2 separate regions of the Homo sapiens genome follow, and region 2 is linked to region 1. Evidence: promoter capture Hi-C in human tissues and cell types (Jung and others, 2019). All regions are on one chromosome and are shown on one strand. The core of a region is centred on a gene start or on the middle of the fragment in contact, and the rest is flanking DNA. Distances in the headings are between cores, read along the strand shown. Region 1 holds the start of KLF9 (KLF transcription factor 9). Region 2 has its middle 59 kb from the start of ABHD17B.

Region 1 (4,926 bases), core at 2,145-4,644:
CTGGGGAGGCTGAGGCAGGAGAATCGCTTGAACCCTGGAGGCGGGGGTTGTTGCAGTGAACCGAGATCGTGCCATTGCACTCCAGCCTGGGCGACAGAGCGAGACTGTCTCAAAAATAAATAAATAAATAAAATAATACAATTTACCACGGAAAAAGAATAGGTTATTTGAACCCCCATTCCACTTTCTACAAACCAGCTTGAAGAAAGAAAAATCGAGACTATAAAATTAAGGAAGGGATTTTGAACACATTTATATTTGTGTCTGCTACCCATTAAATGTTGATTTAAGGTTTTCTGACCTTCACTGCCATAAAGAGCAGTATTTGTAGATGTACAGCAGATGAGATGGTATTTAAAGAACCCAAGTCTTGCCCCAGTTTTTTTCTCTAGGATTTTTTTTCTTTTGTTTTAGATCCCTTGAGTGTTTGGAGTTTGGGAGGAACTATTGGAGATTTATTAATCTAATCTCATCAATTTACAGATAAGGAAATAGCTCCCAGAGATTGTCTGAGGTTAGAGTTTATCTCAGACCCAAAGGCCAGCTCCTCACAGTGGTCTACAACGCTGAAACAGCTGACTGTAGGCACTACTTCTTATTAGAGCTAATAATGATAATACTGTAATTATTTTAGGATGCACAGAAAACAAGGCTGATATGTTCTGGCTACAGGCCCATAAGCCATTGTTTTGAGAACTTTGATAATAAAGCAAATTCTTAGGCAGAATTTAGAGAGGAAAGCATAAACTAGAAGCACACTTACAGTCTGAATTTTCATGCTCCTTCCGGTTGGTTTGTTTGGATTTTGAAAATGTGTATTTACAAAGACTAACTTGGGGGAAAACAGCCCTCTTACATTTATGTGGCATAATATATACTTTAGTGATAAATTATTTTAATTAGGAATGATTCATATTAATTTGGGATCATTTATTTTGCCAACATTTAATTGGGACAACCACATGCTGGCAAAACAGCCCAAGCCGGTTTTAATCATAAAACTATTATAATACGCATTCCAACACCCCCAAGGAAACTTCACTGTTGAAAATAGAAGAAAAAAATCCTGACATAGAAATAATTATTTGCTGATATGTTATTTTATATATACGTTTTTAACATATAAACTTCATGGAGGACAGAGTCTCTTTTCATTTCTGTATTCCCCCATGCCTAGCTCATTGCCAGGAACATAAATATCTGGAGAATGAATGAGTGGAAAAGGAGAAAAAAGAGAAAGCATTCTACAGTTCTAGAATTGCTGGGTTTAAAAAGATATTCTAAATCAAGTCAAGCAGCAGTTATGTTTGTAAATGTGTGAGAAATTCATGTAGATGAAATCTCAGTTTTCTTTCATTACTTTCTTTTGTAACTCTGAAATGAGTGAGTTTGGAGAATTCAGTGTTTATGTCCAGTTCAAACAAAGTGAAATTAAAGGGAATTAAAGAAAAGCTGGCAAGGAGTAAGGAAGGGAAAAGTTTATATTTTTAAAAAACCTAAAGTGACTGATGTATTCAAATTCCTGGATTATATAATCTTCAAGGAAAGATACAGACTTTTCCTCTATTCTGGAATAATGATGATGGTGGTCCTAGGGCTGTCTATAGATGTCCAGGCCCGAGCAGTCTGTTTCACCAGTACAATCCCAGTTAAAATGCAAGTCTGAGGGGTTGTACAGGCCATGATCATAGAGATCCTGGAGAGATCCCGCTGGTATATGCACTGGGCCTTGAGGCAGGCAAAGGTGCAATTTCTAAGTGATCGTGTATCCTAGGGGACAAAATTTGTCCCAGAAAAATCATGAAGTAGGCAAACTCCCCTGGGCTTCAGTGAATTCTTTTCTAAAATTAAGAGATTAAGTTCTAAAAATGCAAGAACTCCAAGATGGCTTGGAGTTTTTTATACACTGTATACCTACCTTACAGGGATGCATGCAGGGTGCTTGGTACAGGGCCTGACACAGAGTAAGCCCTCCATGAAAGGGGTCGGTGATAATGATGCTGATGGTGATGATATTCTTGGTTGCCCAGTATCCCCTATCTACACCTTTCTTCCACCTGCAGTCACCTACTGCAATATCTTCCCTGTACCACTTTAATATTTTTGTTGTTGTTTTCTTTATTTTTTTAAGCTGTACACTTTTATTGAACTGGTCTTGTCAGGTTTGTTATTTTTTAATTAAAATCTATTATACTCTTACTTACCTGAGCCACCCTTAGTTATGATTTAAAAAAAAACAAAAAAAACAGGGCCTTGCTCTGTTGCCCAGGCTGGAGTAGTACAGTGGTGTAATCAGGGCTCACTGCAGCCTTGACCTAGGCTGACGCAGTCCTTCAGCCTCAGCCTCCTGAGTAGCTGGGACTACAGGTGCGAGCCACCACGCCTGGCTAACTTTTTTTTTATTATTATTATTTTTGATGTACCACTTTAAAAACAAAGTCAAAAGAAACTACTGTAGATCTCACATTGGTAGAGTCAATTTGAGACCCTTGCCTCGGAGACCAGAACCTGGTGTAACTTTCTCTTAACAAAGGTTAATAGCCAGTGGGGGGTCAGGGTTGGAACTCACCGAATCTGCATCACATAGAATCAGGTACCTCTCACATTCACGAAAGTGAATTATTTTTAATGAATTGTGCTGACAGTATGCCTCTTGCAAAAAGAACTAGCCCTAGATTCTTTTCTAGCTATCAAGATGGAAAACAACCACATCGTTAATTCAGACGGAGGGGTAAACCAAGTTAATCAGACTCCAAGACCCATACTAATTGTTGACCAAGTAATGCCACAGTATTCCATGGCTAAGGATTTCCAGCTTGTTCCAGTCCCTAAAAATCTGTTCTGCACAGTTAATATTTCACAAAACCAAAAGGGCTTAGTTGCAAGCACAAAGAGCTAGAAATCAGGAGACTTGTGGTTTCTATTGAGTTCTATCATTATCTGTCTAATAAGATAAATAAGTCACTTCTCTGTAACTCAGTTTCCACATTTGTGAAGTGAGGGAAGAGAAACATGTCCTAAAAACCATGCAGGGGCTCTGGAAAGAAAAAGAGCTAAGAATGGTGGGTTTTTTATAAAAGTTACACAAATGAATGGTTTTTGTCTCCGTTTTTCTGAAAGTGGGTTAAAAATAGCCTCCAAATAAAGCTAAAAGAATTTATTTAGACTAAATTGCACCAGAGAAGTAGAGGAATTAAGAGATATGACAAGCAAAGATGGGATGTTTCAATGGAAGAATCTCAGGCAGTAAAAAGGCTATGCTGTAAAACCAGAACTTTTGTTAGCACTGCATTTTTAAGATGAATTGGTCATAGTTAATGTATTGGATGGAAGAATTTTTAAACATCTGCCCCAAAGTATGCTGCATCCAAAAAATATATAACAAAACGAATTCTTACTCATTTGTGTTTATTCTTGGACTTATCCTGACATAATGGGGTTTTTTTAATTATAGATTCACACTGCATTTATTCATCACCCCTGTCCTCTCATCCATAACTCAAATTTACTACCAGCAACACAAAATACAAAGATGTGTCCAGTTTCACTACAGCTCTTCGCGTTTACAAGTGTCGAGCGCTTGCTTTCGGAACGCCCTTGTGATTGGCCGAGCCAATGCCAGTGACATCAACCAACTTACTTTTGATTGGAAGGCTGGTTGCTGGGACTGTAGCGTTTGCAGGAAGTCACTTAACTGTTTGGGAGCTGGAAAACCGAAGCTGAAGTTCTCTTTTGCCATAGGAACGAGCGCAACTGACTAGGAAAGATGTGTCCCAAAGCTCCGCAAGCTGGAACGTGAGCCAGGAGGCCCGGACCGGCCACGGGACCGCGAGGCACTCCGAAAGTGTGCGGCTGCCCCTTCCCTGCCTCCCAGCTGTTACCCTTTTAAATGTCAGTGTTCGAGGCTGTAGGGGTAGCACGAGGCAGCGAAACGGAACAGTCGGATTGGCCGCACGCCTCAGTTCTAGACGCACCTCTCCACCGAAGGCCGTTCTGACTGGCAGGGGGAGAAAGTAAACAGAGTTGAATCACCCTCCCCACTGGCCAATTGGAGGGGGTTTGGTTTGTGACGTGATGGGATTCTGCGAAATTGTTACTGAGCAAGAGAATGCCGGAACGGTGCGGACCGGCCGGAGCAGGGGTTCAGAAGCCGTCAGTGGACTCGGGAAAAAGTGTCTCTTAGACCTGGCGCTCGGCGGGACCCTCGCCACCCGCGTCGGGGTGATCGGGTGAATGTCCTGGGGCTTTGGCTCGACGGCGAGGCGGCCGAGGGCGTGCACCTCTCTTGCAGTTTCCTCTCCCAGCGCCTCGGGGGCGTTTTCAGTCGAATAAACTTGCGACCGCCACGTGTGGCATCTTTCCAAGGGAGCCGGCTCAGAGGGGCCGGCGCGCCCGTCGGGGGATCGCGGCCGGCGCGGGGCAGGGGCGGCGGCTAGAGGCGGCGGCGCGGCGGAGCCCGGGGCCGTGGATGCTGCGTGCGGAGGCGCTGCCGGTTACGTAAAGATGAGGGGCTGAGGTCGCCTCGGCGCTCCTGCGAGTCGGAAGCGCCCCGCGCCCCCGCCCCCTTGGCCGCCGCGCCGTGCCGCGCCGCGCCGCGCTCGTCGTCCGAGGCCAGGGCAGGGCGAGCCGAACCTCCGCAGCCACCGCCAAGTTTGTCCGCGCCGCCTGGGCTGCCGTCGCCCGCACCATGTCCGCGGCCGCCTACATGGACTTCGTGGCTGCCCAGTGTCTGGTTTCCATTTCGAACCGCGCTGCGGTGCCGGAGCATGGGGTCGCTCCGGACGCCGAGCGGCTGCGACTACCTGAGCGCGAGGTGACCAAGGAGCACGGTGACCCGGGGGACACCTGGAAGGATTACTGCACACTGGTCACCATCGCCAAGAGCTTGTTGGACCTGAACAAGTACCGACCCATCCAGACCCCCTC
Region 2 (5,277 bases), core at 1,204-3,703, 1.4 Mb before region 1:
CTGGATCTTCTTCATAGCCTAAAATAAACTGTAGACCTCCTAAAATAAAGTGTAATGAGACAACTTATTTTATTTTGCTTTGCTTTATTGTGCTTTGCAGATACTGCTTTTGTTTTTTACAAATTGAAGGTTCATGGCAACCCTGCGTCAAGCAAGTCTATCGGTGTCATTTTTTCCAACAGCATGTGCTCATTTTGTGTCTCTGTGTCACATTTTGGTAATTCTTACAATATGTCAAACTTCATATTATTACTGTATCTGTTATGGTGATCTGTAATCAGTGATCTTTGAGGTTATTATGGTAATTGTTTGGGGGTGCCATGAAACACGCTCATATAAGATGACTAAGATGGCAAACTTCATGGATAAATGTGTGTGTCCTGACTGCTCCACCAACCAGCCATTCCCTCATCTCTCTCCCTCTCCTCAGGCCTCCCTATTTCCTGAGACATAACAATATTGAAATTAGGCCAATTAATAACTGCGATGGCCAGGTGCTGTGGCTCACGCCTGTAATCCCATCACTTTGGGAGGTTGAGGTGGGCAAATCACATGAGCTTGGGAGTTTAAGACCAGCCTGGGTAATGTGGAAAAGCCCTGTCTCTACCAAAAACCCCAAAATCAGCCAGGTGTGGTGGCACACACCTGTAGTCCCAGCTCCTTGGGAGGCTGAGGTGAGAGGATCACTTAAGCCTGGGAGGCAGAGAGGTTGGCAACAACCAGCCTGGGTGACAGAGCAAGACCTTGTCTCCAATATATATATTATAATATATATATATAATAATATATAAATTATATATAGTATATATATAATATATATTATATATAATAATATATATACTATATATAATATATAATAATATATAGACTATATGTAATATATATAATATATAGACTATATACAATATATAATATATAGACTATATACTATATATAATATATACTATATATACTATATATAATATATAATATATATACTATATATAATATATATACTATATTTAATATATATTATATATAGTATATATAATATATGATTATATATACTACTATATATACTATATATAATATATAAATGTATATACTATATATAATATACATACTCTATATTATATATATAATATATACATATATATAATATATATATATTATACACAGACATCATGCTCATTTTCTCTAATAATAATTGGAATAGAATATAGCTTTACAATTTTAAGAGCCCTTTCACGTATATTATAGGATTATTTAAAAGTCCTTTGATATAAGCAGCATATATATTATATGTATTTTATATATATATTATATATTTTATATATGTATATATAATGTAAAAACCCCTGCAATGGCCTCTAACTGTTCAAGTGAAAGGATGAGTCATTAGTCTTTCATGTTAAATCAAAGGCTGGAAATTGTTAAGCTTAGTGAGGAAGGTATGTGTAAGGCTAAGACAGGTTAAAAGCTAGGTCTCTTGTACCCAACAGTTAAGAAGTTATGAATGGAAGGCAAAAGTTCTTGAAGATAATTAAAAGTGATACTCCAATGAATACATGGATAAGAAAGTGAAACAACCATATTGGTCATAGGAAGAAAGTTTTTTAAGTGTTCTAGAAAGATCAGACCAGCCACAACATTCCCTTAGGCCAAAGCCTAATCCAGGTTAGAGACCCTATTTCTGCAAAAGACAGAAAAAATTAGCCAGGCGCAGTGGCTCACGCCTGTAATCCCTGTCTACCAAAAATACAAAAATTAGCTGGGCATGGTGGTACACACCTGTAATCCCAGCTATTTGGGAGGCTGAGGCAGGAGAATCACTTGAACCCAAAGGCGGAGGTTGCAGTGAGCCGAGATCGCGCCACTACCTCCAGCCTGGGCAGCAGAGTGAAACTCTGTCTCAAAAAAGAAAAAGAAAAAATTAGTTGAAGGTGATGGCGTATGCCTGTAGTCCCAGCTACTTAGGAGGCTGAAGCCAGAGGATGACGTGAGTCCAGGATTTCAAGGCTACAGTGAGCTATGGTTATACCACTGTACTCCAGCCTGGGTGACAGAACATGATCCTGTCTCAGGGAAAAAAAAAAAAAAAAAAAGAATATATATATATATATATATATATATACACACACACACACACATATTTATTTATATATATTTATTTATATATGTATATATTTATTTATATATATTTATTATATATATTTATAGCTATATATAAAGCTAATATATATAATATATAAATATTATATTATATATATAAATATATAATATATATATAAAGCTAATGTAGCTTGTCACTTTCAGTTGAAGCCAGTGTTCATTTACCATTCAGTTGAAGCCAGTGTTCATTTACCATTCTGGAAATCTTAGGGCACTTAAGAATTATGTAAATCTACTCTGCCTATGTTCTATCAATGGAACAACAAAGCCTGGATAATAGCACATCTGTTTACAGCTTGATAACTGGATATTTTAAGCCCATTTTTTGAGACCTACTGCTCAGAAAAAAAGAATTCTTTCAAAATGTTACTGCGCATTGTCAATGCACCCTAAGAGCTCGATAGAGATGTACAAGGAGATTAGTGTTTTTATAGTGGCTAATGCAACATCCAAGCTGCAGCCCATGGATCAAGGAATAATTTTGACTTTCAGGTCTTATTAAGAGATACATTTTATAGGGCTATAGCTGCCATAGATAGTAAATCTGGTGAATCTGGGCAAAGTAAATTGAAAACCTTCTGGAAAGGAGTCACCAATCTGGATGTCACTAAGAACATTTGTGGGCCCTACACGGTGGCTCACACCTGTAATCCCAGCATTTGAGAGGCCAAGGTGGGTGGATCACCTGAGGTCAGGAGTTCAAGACCAGCCTGGCCAACATGGCAAAACCCCATCTCTACTAAAAATACAAAAATTAGTCAGGTGTGGTGGCAGGCACCTGTAATCCCAGCTACTCAGGAGGCTGAGGCAGGAGAATTGCTTGAACCTGGGAGGCCGAGGTTGCAGTGAGCCAAGATCGTGCCACTGCACTCCAGGCTGGCCAACAGAGTGAGACTCCATCTCAAAAAAAAAGATTTGTGATTCATGGGAGGAGGTCAAAATAGCAACATTAGCAGGAGTTTGGAAGAAGTTGATTTCAACCCTCATGGATGACTTTGAGGAGTTTAAGACTTCAGTGGAGGAAGTAAGTACTGATGTAGTGGAAATAGCAGGAGAATTAGAAGTGGAGCTTGACAATGTGACTGAATTGCTGCAACTTCATGATAAAACTTGAACAGGGCCCGGTGAAGTGGCCCTGTAATCCTAGTAATCATGACTGTAATCTCAGCACTTTAGGAGGCTGAGGCAGGAGGATCACTTGTGCTCAGGAGTTTGAGACATGCCTGGGCAACATAGTGAGACCTTATCTCTATTAAAATAGTTTTTTTTAAAAAATTAGCTGGGTATGATAGCATGTGCTTGTAGTCCCAGCTACTTGGAAGGCTGAGGCAGGAGGATTGCTTCAGCCCAGGAGATGGAGGCTGCAGTGAGTCATGATCATACTACTGCACTCCAGCCTAGGCAACAGAGCAAGATCTTGTCTCAAAAAAGAAAACACAATCTTGAACAGTTGAGGTGTTGCTTCTTATGGATGAGCAAAGAAAGTGGTTTCTTGAGATGGAATCTCCTCCTGGTAAGGATGCTGTGAACATTATTGAGATGACACAACAAAGGATTTAAAATATGACATAACCTTAGTTAATAAAGCAGCAGCAGAGTTTGAGAGCATTTACACCAATTTTGAAAGAAGTTATATAGAGAAAATGCTATCAGACAGCATCTTATGCTTCAGAGAAATCTTTCCTGAATGGAAGAATCAACTGATGCAGCAAACCTCACTATTACTTTAAGAAATTGCCACAGCTATTCCAACCTTCAGCAACCACCATCCTGGTTAGCAGCCATCAACACTGATATAAGAGCCTCCACCAACAAAAAGATTACAACTTGCTGAAGGTTTGGATGATTGGTAGCCTTTTTTAGCGACAAGATTTTTTTTTTTTTTGCAGCAAGATATTTTAAAATGAAGGTATGTACATTGCTTTTTTAGGCACAGTGGTATTGCATACTTAATATAATACAGTATGATAGAAACATAACTTTTTTGTTTGTTGATTTGTTTTAATGTGCTTTCTATACACACATATCTCTTAAGACAAGTTTCCTGGGCTCTATTTTCATCCAGATTGCTGTCGTAATCCCTCCTGATAGAAAAATTCTAGAGGTACTTCAGGGTAGACTGCATGCTGTGAGGACAAAAATAGATTTATTTTTAAAATTTTATTTAAGTTCTAGGATGCATGTGCAAAATGTGCAGGTTTGTTACTATCAACCTGTCATCTAGGTTTTTTTTTTTTTTTTTTGAGACGGAGTCTCGCTCTTTCGCCCAGGCTGGAGTGCAGTGGTGCTATCTCGGCTCACTGCAAGCTCCGCCTCCCGGGTTCATGCCGTTCTCATGCCTCGGCCTCCCGAGTAGCTGGGACTACAGGCGCCCACCACCACGCCCGGCTAATTTTTTTTTTTTTGTATTTTTAGTAGAGATGGAGTTTCACCGTGTTAGCCAGGATGGTCTCGATCTCCTGACCTCGTGATCTGCCCGCCTTGGCCTCCCAAAGTGCTGGGATTACAGGTGTGAGCCACCACGCCCGGCCTTGTCGTCTAGGTTTTAAGCCGCACATGCATTAGGTATTCATCCTAATATTCTCCCTCCCCTTGCGCCACACCCCCCCAACAGGCCCAGTGCATGATGTTCCCCTCCCTGTTTCCATATGTTCTCATTGTTCACCTCCCACTTATGAGTGAGAACATGTGGTGTTTGGTTTTCTGTTCCTGTGTTAGTTTGCTGAGAATGATGGCTTGCAGATTCATCTATGTCCCTGCAAAGCACATGAACTCATCCTTTTTAATGGCTGCATAGTATTCCATGGTGTATATATGCCACATTTTCTTTATCCAGTCTATCATTGATGGGCATTTGGGTTGGTTCCAAGTCTTTGCTATTGTAAGTAGTGCTGCAGTAAACGTACATGTGCATGTGTCTTTATAGTAGAATGATTTATAATCCTCTGGGTATATACCCAGTAATGGGATTGCCGAGTCAAATAGTATTTCTGGTTCTAGATCCTTGAGGAATCGCCCCACTGTCTTCCACAATGATTGAGCTAGTTTATACTCCCACCAACAGTGTAAAAGCGTTCCTATTTCTCCACAGCCTGGCCAGCATCTGTTGTTTCCTGACTTTTTTAA

Evidence for each region. The method cuts DNA at HindIII sites, captures the fragments that hold promoters and counts their contacts. A contact is called where the count stands out against the background at its distance.
Region 2: a contact is called between a fragment that was not itself captured here and the fragment with the promoter of KLF9 in region 1, in 1 of the 25 tissues and cell types used here (dorsolateral prefrontal cortex).

Annotation. Positions count from the first base shown.
Region 1 is chr9:70,413,125-70,418,050 of GRCh38, reverse strand. KLF9 (KLF transcription factor 9) reads left to right here and starts at 3,394. Exons shown (of 2, transcript NM_001206.4): 1 at 3,394-4,926. The coding sequence starts at 4,688. KLF9-DT (KLF9 divergent transcript) reads right to left here and starts at 3,861. Exons shown (of 4, transcript XR_001746710.3): 1 at 3,641-3,861. RefSeq lists enhancers at 3,682-3,811, 4,152-4,231, 4,060-4,913, a promoter at 3,543-4,345 and a silencer at 4,522-4,701. The HindIII fragment of the contact is 13,608 bases long and covers 1-4,926 here.
Region 2 is chr9:71,849,433-71,854,709 of GRCh38, reverse strand. No RefSeq gene overlaps it. Among named protein-coding and RNA genes, the nearest start is that of ABHD17B, 59 kb to the left of the region's middle. The HindIII fragment of the contact is 6,828 bases long and covers 1-5,277 here.